3 separate regions of the Homo sapiens genome follow, and all the other regions are linked to region 1. The links are contacts of gene promoters, found by promoter capture Hi-C in human tissues and cell types (Jung and others, 2019). All regions are on one chromosome and are shown on one strand. Each heading gives the region's core, a stretch centred on a gene start or on the middle of the fragment in contact. The rest is flanking DNA. Distances are from core to core; before and after follow the strand shown.

The links. Contacts are between HindIII fragments. The study calls those that stand out against the background at their distance.
Region 2: a fragment that was not itself captured here is called in contact with the fragment with the promoter of LUZP2 in region 1 in 3 of the 25 tissues and cell types used here (adrenal gland, aorta and stomach).
Region 3: a fragment that was not itself captured here is called in contact with the fragment with the promoter of LUZP2 in region 1 in 2 of the 25 tissues and cell types used here (dorsolateral prefrontal cortex and spleen).

Annotation. Positions count from the first base shown.
Region 1 is chr11:24,494,186-24,499,110 of GRCh38, reverse strand. LUZP2 (leucine zipper protein 2) reads right to left here and starts at 2,058. Exons shown (of 12, transcript NM_001009909.4): 1 at 1,806-2,058. The coding sequence starts at 1,867. The HindIII fragment of the contact is 10,753 bases long and covers 1-4,925 here.
Region 2 is chr11:24,437,602-24,442,526 of GRCh38, reverse strand. No RefSeq gene overlaps it. Among named protein-coding and RNA genes, the nearest start is that of LUZP2, 57 kb to the left of the region's middle. The HindIII fragment of the contact is 6,863 bases long and covers 1-4,925 here.
Region 3 is chr11:24,545,709-24,550,633 of GRCh38, reverse strand. All of the region lies in intron 1 of LUZP2 (leucine zipper protein 2), which reads right to left. Among named protein-coding and RNA genes, the nearest start is that of LUZP2, 51 kb to the right of the region's middle. The HindIII fragment of the contact is 8,095 bases long and covers 1-4,925 here.

The DNA.
Region 1 (4,925 bases), core at 809-3,308:
CCAGTTTTTGTTGTAATAAGTGTGTTAACTATTTTTAAAGAAATTTATCCCTATCAAAATCAACACTTTCATGAAAGGAAAAGATAATGGCTTTTTGACCCTGTATTAGATATCGAACATTAAATCTTTGGACGCTAGAGACTATAGAGCTTTTTCATTCAATTTAATTATAGTATCCTTAAAAAGCAAATGTACTTTTGGAACTCTAGAGATGTTCACAGTCTAAAATCACTGTGGGCTGGATTTCTATTGTTTAAATATTTCCTATTATTTATGCATGTGTTGACTGTCATCTACTTAAGTGTCCAAAGTTAGAAAATTTCCTTTCTCTAGAAGACTAAATCACAACATAAGAGTGAATGGCAAGAATTTAAAGAATAACTGTGATGCATAATTTGTATTGAACTGTTGAGAGCTAACCACAAATATTAAAATGGGCTCTGTATTTAGAGCAACTAATTATAATACTGGGAAGCAAACTGGTTTTCTTTAAAACCATCTGCACTTTATGAGCTGAAGTGACAAGCAAACCTTACAGAAAATGAAGAATCAAACTTACATTTCATTTTAATCTGGGAAAGTCACCTGGGCTTTGTTTGCAAGGAAAGACTAAATTTATCAATTATTGAGGGTAAATGAAATAGTCTCTACACTAAAAGGAAAGTTTGGTTACACAGGCCTGAAAGAAGGTGTGTAGATTAGGAACGGAATCAAGAATTTTACAGCCTTGATTTGTAAGACAGAGTAAGTTTTCTTCATCCTTTTCCATTTCAGAATTAGAAACAACCCTATATCCCTACTTTATTTGCCATCAGATGCACAATCAAATAATGTTTCTATTCACGTAGACTTGAAAGGATCTTCATCCTGTGTGGGTTATTTTATTTTATAGTAGCCAAGGGAAAGAGGTTGCTGCCAATATGATGCTAAGGGCATGCAGAATAAAGACAGTCCTGGGCAACTAAACAGTCCACCTTTGTGCTGCGCTTGTGGAAGAAAAAAGCAAACCCATCACAACTTTGGGACTTGATCAACAGTGGGGAGTCACAAAACTCTTCTCAATCTCTGCATTTTAAATCTCCACCAAAAATAGCTCCTCTGTAATGGGGCTTAAAGTCCCATCCATGGCCAGTGATGGAGTACAGTACTTAATTGTTTCTGACTAGGGTCTCTGCATCAGCACTCTGAGAGTGTCTTCTAACTTTTAATCGCCTTCTGTGCTCTTTAATTAGACCTGTTCACAAGACAGTCAAAAGAAAACGCCTATCACTAAGCTTATCCAAGACGTTGAAACATGCCATTTCAGGAGTCCAGGAACTTTTGTACAAGTCTTAGCATCTTCCAGGATTAATCTGTTTTCTCTGGTTTCCTCTTCCTTAAATCAGGCACACTTGGGGGAAGGGAGAAGCTCTATGGTTATTAAGACAACTCCAATGTAAAGACACTGCCTGGTGGCAATTCCCTCCTTGCCTATTTCCGTTCTTTATTTTGTTCTTTTACCGCGTGTTACCTTTTGGCTACTAATAGGACCGGAGGGTAAAATGTCTTTTCTCTCCTTCGGAAGAGAAAGCTTTTGATCCCTCACTGAGAGCAATCCTAAGACTTTCTCCAGGGGGCTGGGATAACTAGGAAAGGGCTCTGCTCTCTCAGAAGGATTTCAGAGCCCAAACCATACAGCGTCCCTCTTGCTTAGGCGGGAGATGCAAACAGCTGAAGTGCCTTGGCCCCCACTGGTGACCCACAGTAGGACCAACCTCGCCCCGGCAGCGCCCCTGGCCTCAGGTCACTCACGCTCCTGGACTCACCTGGTGCTGAGGACCAGCGCAGGCAGGAGAGGCAGCAGGTAGTGCGCTGGGCTGAATTTCATGCTGCTGCCTGCCGGGGTCCTCCTTCCCTCGCTGCCTTCTCTCTCTCTCTTCGGGATCCTGTCGCTCCTTGGTGCCCGGCTCTGTCCCCAGCCAGTGATGAGCGCTCTTCCGAGGCGGAAAGGCGGAGACGGGCACACGAACGGACGCCTGGGGAAGGCAGGCGCTGGGAGCGAGGAGTATCTTCAGGAGTGATGTCACCGGCGAGGCGAGCCCTGCCGGGGATTGTTCGGCGCCGCCGCTCCGGAGCCCGGAGGGCGCGCCGTCACTCGCGCTGGAGGCGGCGCGGGGAGAGGGAGGGGGCGCCTCGCGATCGCCCCGTGCGCTTCGGTCACCGGGCTGCGCTCTGGTCAGTCGGGTGAGCACTGGCCAGGGGCGGATCATTTATTCCCGCTGCTCCCCAGGATGGCGCGGGGCGGGGCACGGAGAGTAGAAACCTAATCTGCCGATAATTGAACTTGCGTACTCGGCAGGAGATGAGACCCAATTCACTGGGAGAGACTTCCAGACGCGTAGGGTCCTAGGCAGGTGTCTCTCGCCGCTTAAACCGTGTTTGGAAGAACGTCGCTCTGGAGAGAGTGTTTAGAAGATTGTTCTAATTAGAACTGCATAATGATTTGCCTGAAACAGATGGAAGGAAGCGGGAGTAAGCAGCGTCCAGAAATGCAACCTCAGCCCGTCATGGCATTGCAATCTTCTTAACCCGTGAATGTTGACTGCAAAGAACCAAAGAACGTTTCGGGACCGTTAAGACATCTGCTGCTCTGGGTTTTGAAGATTTCTGATCTTCCTCTGATTTCAGTCGTCTGTACCAGCACCTGCCAATGGGGTTGGACCTGGTGGCTCAAGTTCACACACCTGAAGGAGTCCTTTTCCTCAGGTGAAACTCATCAAGGAGACCTAGCGGACAAAAACCATTAAAATGTTAACAGTAATCAGCTCGGAATGATGGTACTGGAAGGTAGAGGTTTTGTAGGTCATTTGGTTTTCTATATTTTCAAATGTTCTATCATAAGCATCCAATATTTAATAGGCTCTATTTAGAAATTTTAATTAGAAAAATTAAATAGCACAATTATAATCCAAAACACCATTTTGCAAAAGCAATTCTGAGAAACAGAACTACTATCTCTGCTACTGAGATATTCAATTCTAGGATATTTATAAGATGATATTGCATGTGTGTGTGTGTGTGTGTGTGTGTGTGTGTGTGTGTGAGTGAGAGTGAGAGAGAGAGAGAGAGAGAGAATGAGAATTCCATCTGGATATTATCCTGGTTATATAACTGTGTATAAGGCACTTCTTCATACAGTATTTAATTTAATCTTCACAAGAGCCATCCTAGTGAAATAGACGTTAATATCACTATTATAGATATGAGCAGACTGAATATCATCAAAATCTGACTATGCATATTAAAAAAAAGAACTGGTTCTACTAAGTCCTAAGAAAAATTCCACTGTTGCCTCAAACATCACAACTAGCACTCCTAGCCCAGTGTTTGACACAAAGTTGTGTTCAGTAAAGGGTGAGGTGCACCAAAGTCCCGAAAGATAATGGACAGCTGTGTCCAGGAATTCCTATCTAGAGGTTTCAGTTCATGTTCCAATTATTTCGGGGGCAAGCTCTTTACAGAAAAATTTAGATGATACATCCTCTTCAATCTCATTTTCGAAGACATTTGTAGGAAAAATGCATTTGCTGTAAAGCTTTATTTTAAAGAGGATGCAAATCTAAAAGGTTAACCATCTAATTTACTATTTTTTTTAAATGGGATTGAAGGTTAAGACATGTATGTAAAACAGATTTGCTTCAAAATCTTGAGCTGCTGAACTAGATGAGTAATAAGTTTTGAAAAGTGAATATTAGCCCCTTGGGCAATAATAATAAGATCCACAACATTATCGATCTTGTATATGCCTAATAAGTAGGCATATACAAATAAACTAACATGTGAATTGCATATCATTTAAGAGAAAAAAACGACACCACACTTTTCTAAAACAGAACTCTGATTCCAAGTAAAATAAAAACTCTGGTTTGCTCCTGCCAGGGTTTTCTAACATAGATTCCCTGCTCACTTTGAAGGAGATTACTTGAGTTGTATACTCAACAAAGACATAAGGCTACTTGGCAATTTTTTTAATGTGTGCACCAGGAAATAACACTCATATTTGTAGAATACATTTTTTATATAACAACTTTGCATCCATTATCTTACGTCCTAATCATAGAAACCAAATGTGGTAGTTATTTCTAGTATTTTTCTCTTTTCCAGTTAAGGTGACAGTTTCAGAGTAGTTAAGTAACTTGCTCAAGGTCACTCAGAGACTTATATAGTGGCGATGGCATTCAAATTCAGTCTGCATTACTTCAAAATGTATGCTTATTTGAGAGAAAAACATTATACACATGTAAGAAAAAACTTTCCCCAACCTAAGTTTTTTTTACTTTCAACTAGACATATAACATAAAACAACAACCAAATTATCTAATATCAATGAATAAAAAAGTCAGAATGAACTTTCTTTACACTGTATCTATATTGGATATCTATAAAGAACCACAAAGTTTGTTGGCCTTTGTGCATTTACTGCAAGCCAAAAAGAAAAAAAAAAAAATCTCTCCAAAAGACATCTAACTTGGAAGGGCATGAGAGCAACATAGTAGGGGAGTACATCTTGAAAGGTATAAGTAAGATTCTGGAAACTCCCACAGATGTAGAGAATTGAAGTATTATTTTGAATTCAAGTACAGATGTGTCTCTCAGCAGAAGTCTTTTCTTCTAGGAAAATTACAAAACCAGGAATCTCCATCACCCATGACATTCTGTCCACATTGTCACATAAAAACCTAAATTCAGAATAAATTTTGTGGCTTTGGAGAATTGGTAGATGAATTTTAAAGATACATTAGTACAGATAGCAATTCACTTATCTTAAACTACTTATCCTATGCTGAGTCCTAACACTGGAGTCAGCAAGCATTGTTTGTGGTAACTGTACCCAAGTCTGAAAAAGAACATCAAGAAAACCCAAGCAGTTGTGCTGAGTCTCTATA
Region 2 (4,925 bases), core at 1,006-3,505, 57 kb after region 1:
GACCATCCTGGCCAACATGGTGAAACCCCATCTCTACTAAAAATACAAAAATTAGCTGGGCGTGGTGGCAGGTGCCTGTAATCCCAGCTGCTCGGGAGGCTGAGACAGTGAGACAGGAGTATCGATTGAACCAGGGAGTTGGAGGTTGCAGTGAGCCAAGATCACACCACTACACTCCAGCCTGATGACAGAGCGAGACTCCACCTCAAAAAAAAATTAATAATAATCAAAATGGGTTTATTGAAGTAATAAAAATATATTTTAGCATTAGAAACTCTAGATTAAGGAAGAAAAATCACATGCTCTTTTAAATATATTTACATAAATAATTGAATAAAATCCAACATGCCATATCCACTTTCACACAGAATGGAGAGTAGACAACTAGAAAAGCCAGATAAAAGACTAAACTCCTCTGTTTAACAGAATCAGAGAGCTGTTGAATGTCTAAGTTTAAATACTAAGAGCTAGAGTCTAGAGAGAGTTGTACCACAGAAATCAACTGATATCTGAACTCACTTTTCCCCTGGAAGCATTACTTAGGCATAAGGAATCTTCAGTAAATGTCATAACTGGGCAGATGTAGATACTAACTTTTGTGAAAATATATAGCAATCTTTACTCTCATAGAGAGCTGATGGATGAGTAAGTTGGTGCAACCATTTGGAAAAATTATTTGGCAATATTTACTGAAGCTGAGCATATGCATAATTTATGTTTCAACATTTTCATTCTTAGGACTATATTGATTATTGGGGCATGGTGGCACTCATCTGTACTCCTGGCTACTTGGGAGGCTGAGGCAGCAGAATCACTTGAGTCCAGGAGGTTGAGGCTAAAGTGAGCCATGATCACACCATTGCACTACAGGCTGGGTTACAAGAGCAAGACTCTATCTCAAAACCAAAGAAAAAAAAGAAAAAAGAAATGTGTCCAATATAAGTGTACACATGTTCTCAACAATACAAGTACATGAATATTCAGAGAAATACTATTCATGATATACAAAATCAGAAAATCACAAACATCCATCAGCACTAGAATGGATAAATTTATAGTATTTAAAACAATGAATATTATTTATCAATGAAATTAGAATAATTACAACTACACATAACAACGTGGCTATCATAAATATATTCTGAGCACTAGATATCTAAAACAAAAGAGTACATCTGGCATGTTCCTATTTATATATTATATATTAATTATATATTTAATATATTATTAAATATATTTAATAGTAATATTTATATAACAAAGTAAACATTTACTATATTGTTAACGTTTATATAAAGATTAAAAACAGGCATTATTGATTTATGATTTTAGAAAATTACAATAGTCATCTTTTATTTTATAGGAGGGAAAGGAAAGATAAAGTGAGTGAAAGAGAGTACAAGGGGTTCTTTTGTGGGTATTGTTAAATGTTCTGTTTCTTGATCTAGGTGATGATTGCATGAATGTGGTTACATGCATTTTGTTATTCAATAAAAATTTAGTAAAATACATACTTAAAAACTTTAAATCAATTCAGACTAATAATAAATACCTTTAGGAAAAGGAAACTACCTTAACTTGATAAGAATTATCTTAAAAAAATGCAAACTACAGAGTCAAAACTTTCACTTTTAGATCAGGAACAAAAAGAGAAAGCCCAATATCACCTGTTCAATACAACAATGAATCAAAGATGTAACCAGGGTCAGTAATACAAGAAAAGAGCCAAAATATCTAAAGATTGGAAAACAAGTAAAACTGTATGTGAAGAAGCTATGATAGCATAGCATAAGAAAATCTATAGAAAAGTGATTAGATTTCATTATTGAGTTCTTAAAGTTTCTATGTGTGAAATTAACATACAGATCAACTACATACTTTATATTAGTAAAAACCAAAAAAAAAGAAATATAAAATGTATTGTTTATAATAACAATGAAAAATAATGCAATCCTTAGAAATAAATTTAACATATGGGTGAATATTTTGGAGAAATATATAAATATCAATCAGAGGCATTACAGAAGATGCAATTATTGTCTTCCTAGGAACTATTTTCCTAGTTCTTGGGGACAGTTTAGAAGAAAATCAAGGTGAGTCACTTTGGTTTGTCAATATTGAGATTTATTCTAAAGCTACGTGAATTGAAAAATTACCATCTCTGAGACGGAGAAATCAATACAACAGGGAGTTCTTAAAAATACTCTTGTAGATACGGGTATACTATATGATATGGCTAGCATTATATACTGTAGAGAAATAATACCTATCAAAGGAAAACAAATACAGTTATTAAAATTTAATAGTTTGAGAAAATCAGTCATAAAAATAATGTAACTCTTATATTTACTATCCACAAATAACAATTCCAGACGGATTAACAACCAATTAACATGGATAAAATGTATTAAGATAATTAAACTCAGAAAATTATTTAAGAAAAGAGCAGACTACAAAAACATACATCATATAATAGTTCATCTGGAAAAAAGATAAATATATGAAGTAATTATATATAACACATTCAGATGAATACACATATAGCAAACTAATAAAGACAAGGTATGGGTAAGAAAGGTATGGGAAAGAAAAGTATGTCATTGTTGAGGAGGGGTGCTGAATTATTCTTGTAATATTTTATGTACGTATACATACACTCAAGTGGATTTCAAGGAAAATTGGAATGAAAACAATTAAGTAAAATAAATATTTTAAATAAAATAAAAACAATTTTCAACATAATCTCCATAAGATCAAGACACATTTGTAAGTGATGATAACAGCCATTTAGTCTGGCCCTAAAGAGCTGAGGGCCCTGGGAATTTAAACATGTTAATACTATATTTTTTACATTACTAACGGAAGAGAAATGGAAGCCCTTTAAAGACTTTTTTAAGATTAGGAAATGAAAAGGAGTCAGAACCAAATCAGAACTTAAGGCAGAAGCTTAATGATTTCTCATCAAAAATCTCTCCAAATTGCCTCTGTTTGATGAGAGATTAATGAGTAGGAACATTGTTGTACTGGAGAAAGACTAAAGCTTTCCTGGATGTTTTTCTGCTAAAGCTTTCTCTTTCTCAAAAACTCTCATAAACAGATGTTATTGTTCTTTGGCCCTCCAGAAAATCAGTAAGCACAATGCCTTGAGCATTCTCCCAAAACCGTTGCCATTACCTTTGTTCTTGACTCATCTGCTCTTGCTTTTACTGGATTATTTCCATCTCTTGGTAGCCATTGCTTTGACTGTGCTTTGTCTTCAGGATCATACTGTTAGAGTCATGTTCTATCTCCTATTACATTATTTGAAGAAGTACTTCAGGAGCTTGATCCCACTTATTGAAATTTGCCACTGAAACTTCCCTTGTCTGAAACTGATTTGTGCCATTAGTCATTGGTCCTCTACAATTAGGGCATAAACAAGATTTTTTTGTCCTTGAAAACTGATGTGGATGATCTGATGCTATGGGCTTCATCTTCGACATGGTCTTCTCCCTTCTTAAAATGAGTTATTCATTTGTAAACTGCTGATTTAATTGGGCCATTATCCTTATACACTTTTTGTAAAGCATCAGTGATTTCACCATTCTTCCATCCAAGCTTCACCATGAATTTTATGTATGCTCTTGCTTCTGTTTTAAAGGATTTGTGTGAGCAACACAAACATGTGATATGGTTTTGCTGTGTGTCCCCACCCAAATCTCATCTTGAAGTGTACCTCCCATAATTCCCATGTGTTGTGGGAGGAACGTGGTGGGAGATAATTGAATCATGACGGCAGTTTCCCCCATACTGTTTTCCTGGTAGTGGATTAATCTCATGAGATCTGATGTTTTTATAAGGGATTTCTGCTTTCAGATCTCTCTGATTGTCTCTTGTCCACCGCTATGTAAGATGTGCCTTTCACCTTGTAGCGTGATTGTGAGTAAGCACAATGCCTTGAGCATTCTCCCAAAACCGTTGCCATTACCTTTGTTCTTGACTCATCTGCTCTTGCTTTTACTGGATTATTTCCATCTCTTGGTAGCCATTGCTTTGACTGTGCTTTGTCTTCAGGATCATACTGTTAGAGTCATGTTCTATCTCCTATTACATTATTTGAAGAAGTACCTCAGGAGCTTGATCCTGAAGCTCCTGTGTGGAACTGTGAGTCCATTAAACCTCATTTTCTTTATAAATTACCCAGTCTCAGGTATGTCTTTATCAGCAGTGTGAAAATGGACTAATACACTCCGATAAAGTCTCTTTTTAAACTAATGTCTAATCCTTCTTAGTGCCTCAAACTAGACCCTCTTCAGATAGACCAAATTAGTGTGAGTTTATATCGAAGTAAAAAAAATAAAATTCATGCAGTTTTTTCATAAGGCACATATTCCACGAACTTGTTGAAGACCCCTTGTATTGATTTTTGCATGCAGTTTTTGCATGCAGTTTCTTGCTTGTAACAAGGGCAGTTTCCCACAGCCCTTGTTGCAGTCTTTTGTTACAATGTTAAGGTACTTCAGACCTGAGAAGCAGGCCTCAGAAAATAAAATGTTTCTCTCTGACCTTCTCCTGCCTGCCTTTTACCAGTTCCTTTTTGTCCTCAAGGCAGGACTCTTTTTATACCTTTCTGTCTTGGAGCTGGTCATAAGCAAATTCCCTGACTGACTGTATGTCATAAGACTTCCATTGCAGAAGAAGTTCTGTCCCAAACCCTGGAGAATGATATGCTATACCAAGTGGCAAAGAAGTATCTGAACAGACAGGCCTTGCCGGGTTTCCCCCATTCAATCTATTAGTATTACATCATACCCTTTTTGTCCAGTCACATTTCTATATGGCTGTCAATCATACCTCAGTAATAAAACCTTCATATTCTCCCAAAAGGACAGGGTGGGGAGAGCTTCCAGATAGCTGAACATGTCTGTGAAGGCTCCTGGAGGGTA
Region 3 (4,925 bases), core at 1,186-3,685, 51 kb before region 1:
ATCTACAGTGGTGACCTGTTTTAACCCATTAGAAAGATTCAAGTTGCTAATATCTGGAAGTTTCAATAATGGAATATATTTCCTGCCTCTATAAGTGATTGGGCTGCCTGGCCATCTGGTTTACATTCAAATACTTCAAAAAACAGGTAGAAATTTGAACTCTAAGATATTTAATTACTCTTCCAGTTGTAGAATATAATATTTTGTTAAGCAGTTCTAACAACCAACCCAGCTAACAGAATAAGTCTTTCTTTTATAATTGTATTAGTCAAACTTGAAATAATGTGTGTAATTGATTTCTTACATTAAACCATGATACAATGTTAAAAGACAAAATTAAACTTCAAAATTATTCTTTAAATTATGCCTTAGTTTTATGTTTTTAATACATAAATGTGGTAGGTTCTATTTTAAAATATTTCTAACACACTGACATTTATAGCAATTAGTATCAGAAGAGCTAGCACATTTGAGTCATTATAGTGAGATTGACATGTTACTGTACACAACAGTAAAACAGATTCATAAATGTTCTCAAATCCCAAGCCATGTAAAGATTTCACATAATTGTAGGAATATTTCTAAGAATAGTCACTCAGGACATATTTTTAGAATTCCATTTCAGAAGAGGGTGGTGGGTTTTCTCCTGTTGATATGTACTAACAAGTCTTTTTCTAGCCTAGGACATGATGGTCGTGTCTTATTCCTCCATTCTAAAGAGCAGTAATTTTATTTCTTTATATTTTATTGAATCTTCCAATTCATGTCCATAAATGACCATAGAAAGCAACATGAACATTTTGGTGGTTTTAGTTAACGTTGGGGGTATTTAAATTGATACAATTTGTCTCATTCAAATTATCTATAGTCATTCACAACAAAATGACATTTTAGCCAATAAAAGATGGAATATACGATGGTAGTCTCATAAGATTACAATGGAGCTGAATAATTCCTATTGTCTAGTGAAAATGTAGCCTTTGTAACTTCATGGTGTAACACATTACTTACATGTTTGTGGTGATGCTGGTGTAAATACACCTACTTGCTTCCGCTTGTATAAAAGTATTGCACATACAGTTATGTATAGTACATAACACTTGATGATAAACGACTATGCTACTAGTTTATGTATTTGCTATATTATACTTGTTAGTGTTATTTTATATTGTACTCCGTAGACTTATTTTTAAAAAAGAATTAAGAGTAAAACGACCTCAGGCAGGCCCTTCAGTAGGTATTCCAGAAGAAGGCATTGTTATCGTAGGAGAGGACAGCTCCGTGTGTGCTGATGCCCATGGAGACCTTCCAGTAGGACAAGACGTAAAGATGCGTGACAGTGATATTGATAATCCTCACCCAGTGAGGGCCTAGGCCAATATTGTGTTAGTACCTTTGTATTTAATTTAAAAAATTTAAAATGTAAATAATATATAACAAACTTAAAAACAGGAAAAGGTTATAAAATAAGGGATATAAAAAATTTCTGTACAGCTGTACAATATACTTGCATTTTAAACTAAATTTTATAACAAAAGAATCAAAAAATTAAAATTAAAAGTGTATAGAGTAAAAAAAGTTACAGTAAGCCAAGGTTAATTTCTTATTGAAGAACAAATTTTGTAATAAATTTAACATAGGGTAAGTATACAGTATTTGTAAAGTCTATAGCAGTATACATTAATGTTTTAGGCCTTTAAAATTGAGAAGAAAAGTATTTACCATGAAACATATACAATAAATTAACCAATTAGCAAACATCTACTTCTAGAATATGAAATACTTCTCATATCATTTGATATTTAATTTTGGGCATTTTCCATGTTTCTATATTTTACAAAATTTTAACAGACATTTTAGTATATTTTAAAAACTTCTCCCTTCATGTTATTTTCTTATTTTTATTTTATCTATTTCTTTGCAACTTTTATTTTTGGTTCAGGGGATAGCTGGGCAAGTTCGTTACATGAATAAATTGTGTGTCACTGGAGTTTGACACTAGGATAATTTTGTCACCCAGATAATAAGCATAGTACCTGACAGGTAGTTTTTCAATTCTCATCGTCCTCACACCCTCCACCCTCAAGTAGTCACTGGTGTCTATTGCTCCCTTCTTTGTGCTCCTGTGTACTCAATGTTTAGCTCCCACTTATAAGTGAGAACAGGTGTTATTTGGTTTTCTCTTCCTGCATTAATTCTCTTCATCCATTAATTCCAGCGCCATCCATGTTGCAGCAAAGGTCACGATCTCATTTTTTGTTGCTGGCTGCATAGTATTCCATGGTATATATGTACCACATTTTCTTTATCCAGCCCACCTTTGATAGGCACTTAGGTTTACTCCATGTATTTGTTATTATGAACAGTGCTGCAATGAACATATGCATGTCTGTGTCTTTATGGTAGAATGATTTATAATCCTCTGGGGATATATTCAGTAATGAAATTGCTGGGTCAAATGGTAGTTCTATTTTAAGTTCCTTGTGAAATCTCCAGGCTGCTTTTCACAGTGGCTGAACTAATTTACATTTCCACCAGCAGTGTATATGCATTCCCTTTTCTCTGCAACCTTGCCAGCATGTATTATTTTTTGACCTTTTAATAATTGTCCTTCTGACTTGTATGAGATGATATCTCATTGTGGTATTAATTTGCACTTCTCCAATGATTAGTGGTGTGGAGAATCTTTTAATATGCTTATTGGCCACATAGATGTCTTCTACTGAGAAGTGTCTGTCCATTTTTTAATGAGGTAGTTTCTTTTTCTGGCTTATTGATTTAAGTTACTTTTGATTCTGAATATTAGACCTTTATCAGATGCATAGTTTGCAAATATTTACTCCCACTTTGTAGGATGTCAGTTTACTCTGTTGATAGTTTCTTTTGCTGTGCAGTGGTCTTTAATTAGGCCGCACTTGTAAATGTTTGCTTTTGTTGCAATTGCTTTTGAAATTGTCATGAAGGTTTTACCAGGGCCTATGTCCAGAATGATATTTCCTATGTTTTCTTCTAGGGTTTTTATTAGTTTTAGGTTTCACATTTAAGTCTTTAACTCACCTTAAGTAGATTTTTGTATTACATATGGTAAAAGGAAGGGGTCCTATTTCAATCTTTTGCATATGACTAACTAGTTATCTCATCATCATTTATTGAATAAATAGTCCTTTACCCACTGCTTGTTATTGTTGGCTTTGTCAAAGATCAGTTGGTTGCAGGTGTGAAGCTTTACTTTTGGGTTCTCTAACCTGTTCCGTTGGTCTATGTGTCTGTTTTTGCACCAGTACCATGCTGATTTAGTTACTGCTGCCTTGTAGTACAGTTTGAAGTCAGGTAGTGTAATGCCTCCAGCTTGTTCTTTTTGTTTAGGATTGCTTTGGCAATTTGAACTCTTTTTTAGTTCCACGTGAATTTTAGGATAGTTTTTTTTTTTCTAATTCTGTAAAGAATGTTTTTGGACAGAAATATAAATAACCATCAGAGAATCTTATGAACACACAGTAGGGAATCTAGAATAAACTGATAAATTCCTGGGCACATACACCCTCTGAAGACTGAACAAGAAAGAAAGAAACTGAAGAATCCCTGAACAGACCAATGATGAGTTCTGGAATTGAATCAGCAATAAATAGCCTACCAACCACCACCACCACCACCACCACCACCACCACCAACAACAACAACAACAACAACAAAAACACACACAAAACAAAACAAAACAAAACAAAAAACAGGACCAGATAGATTCACAGCTGAATTGTATACCAGATGTACAAAGAAGAGCTGGTACCATTCCTACTGAAACTATTTTAAAAAATTGAGGAGGAAGGACTCCTCTCTAACTCATCCTATGAGGCCAGCATCATTCTGATACAAAAACCTGGCAAACACACAACAATAAAAGAAAACTTCTGGCCAATATCTTTGATGAACATTGATGCAAAAATCCTCAACAAAATACTGGCAAACTGAATCCAGCAACATATCAAAAGCTTATTCACCACAGTAAAGTGGGCTTTATCCCTGGGATGCAAAGTTGGTTCAACATAAGCAAATCAATAAATGTGATTCACACCACATAAACAGAATTAAAAACAATACCCACATGATCATGTTAATAGGTGCAAAAAAAGCTTTTGATAAAATTCATTTTTTTATGTTAAAAAACCTCAAGAAACTAGGGAACACATTTCAAAATAATAGGAGCCATTTATGGCAAACCCACAGTCATCCTCATACTAAACAGGGAGGAGCTGGAAGCATTTCCCTTGAAAACTGGCAACAGACAGGGATTCCTTCTCTCACCATTCTTGTTCAACATTGTCTTGGAAGTTTTGGCCAGAGCAATCAGGCAGGATAAGGAAATAAAGGGCATCCAAATAGGAAGAGAAGAAGTCAAACTATCCTTATTTGTAGACAATATAATCCTGTATCGAAGAAACCCCATAGTCTTGGCCCAAAAGGTCCTTAAGCTGATAAGCAACTTCAAAAAAGTATCAACATACAAAATTAATGTACAAAAATCATAACATTCCTATACACCAACAACAGGCAAGCCAAGAGCCAAATCATGAATGCAGTCCCATTTCACAATTGCTAAAAAAGCATAAAATACCTTGATATACAGCTAACCAGGGACGTGAAAAATCTCTACAAGGAGACCTGCAAAGCACTGCTCAAAGAAATCAGAAATAACACAAACAAATAAAAAAGCTATGCTCATGGATAGGAAGAATCAATATTGTTAATATGACCATACTGCCTAAAGCAATTTACAAATTCACTGCTATTCCTATCAAACTACCAATGACATTCTTCATAGAATTAGAAATAACTATTTTAAAATTCATAAGAAACCAAACAAGAGCCCTAATAACAAAGGCAATCCTAAGCAAAAACAACAAAGCTGGAGGCATCACACTACCCAG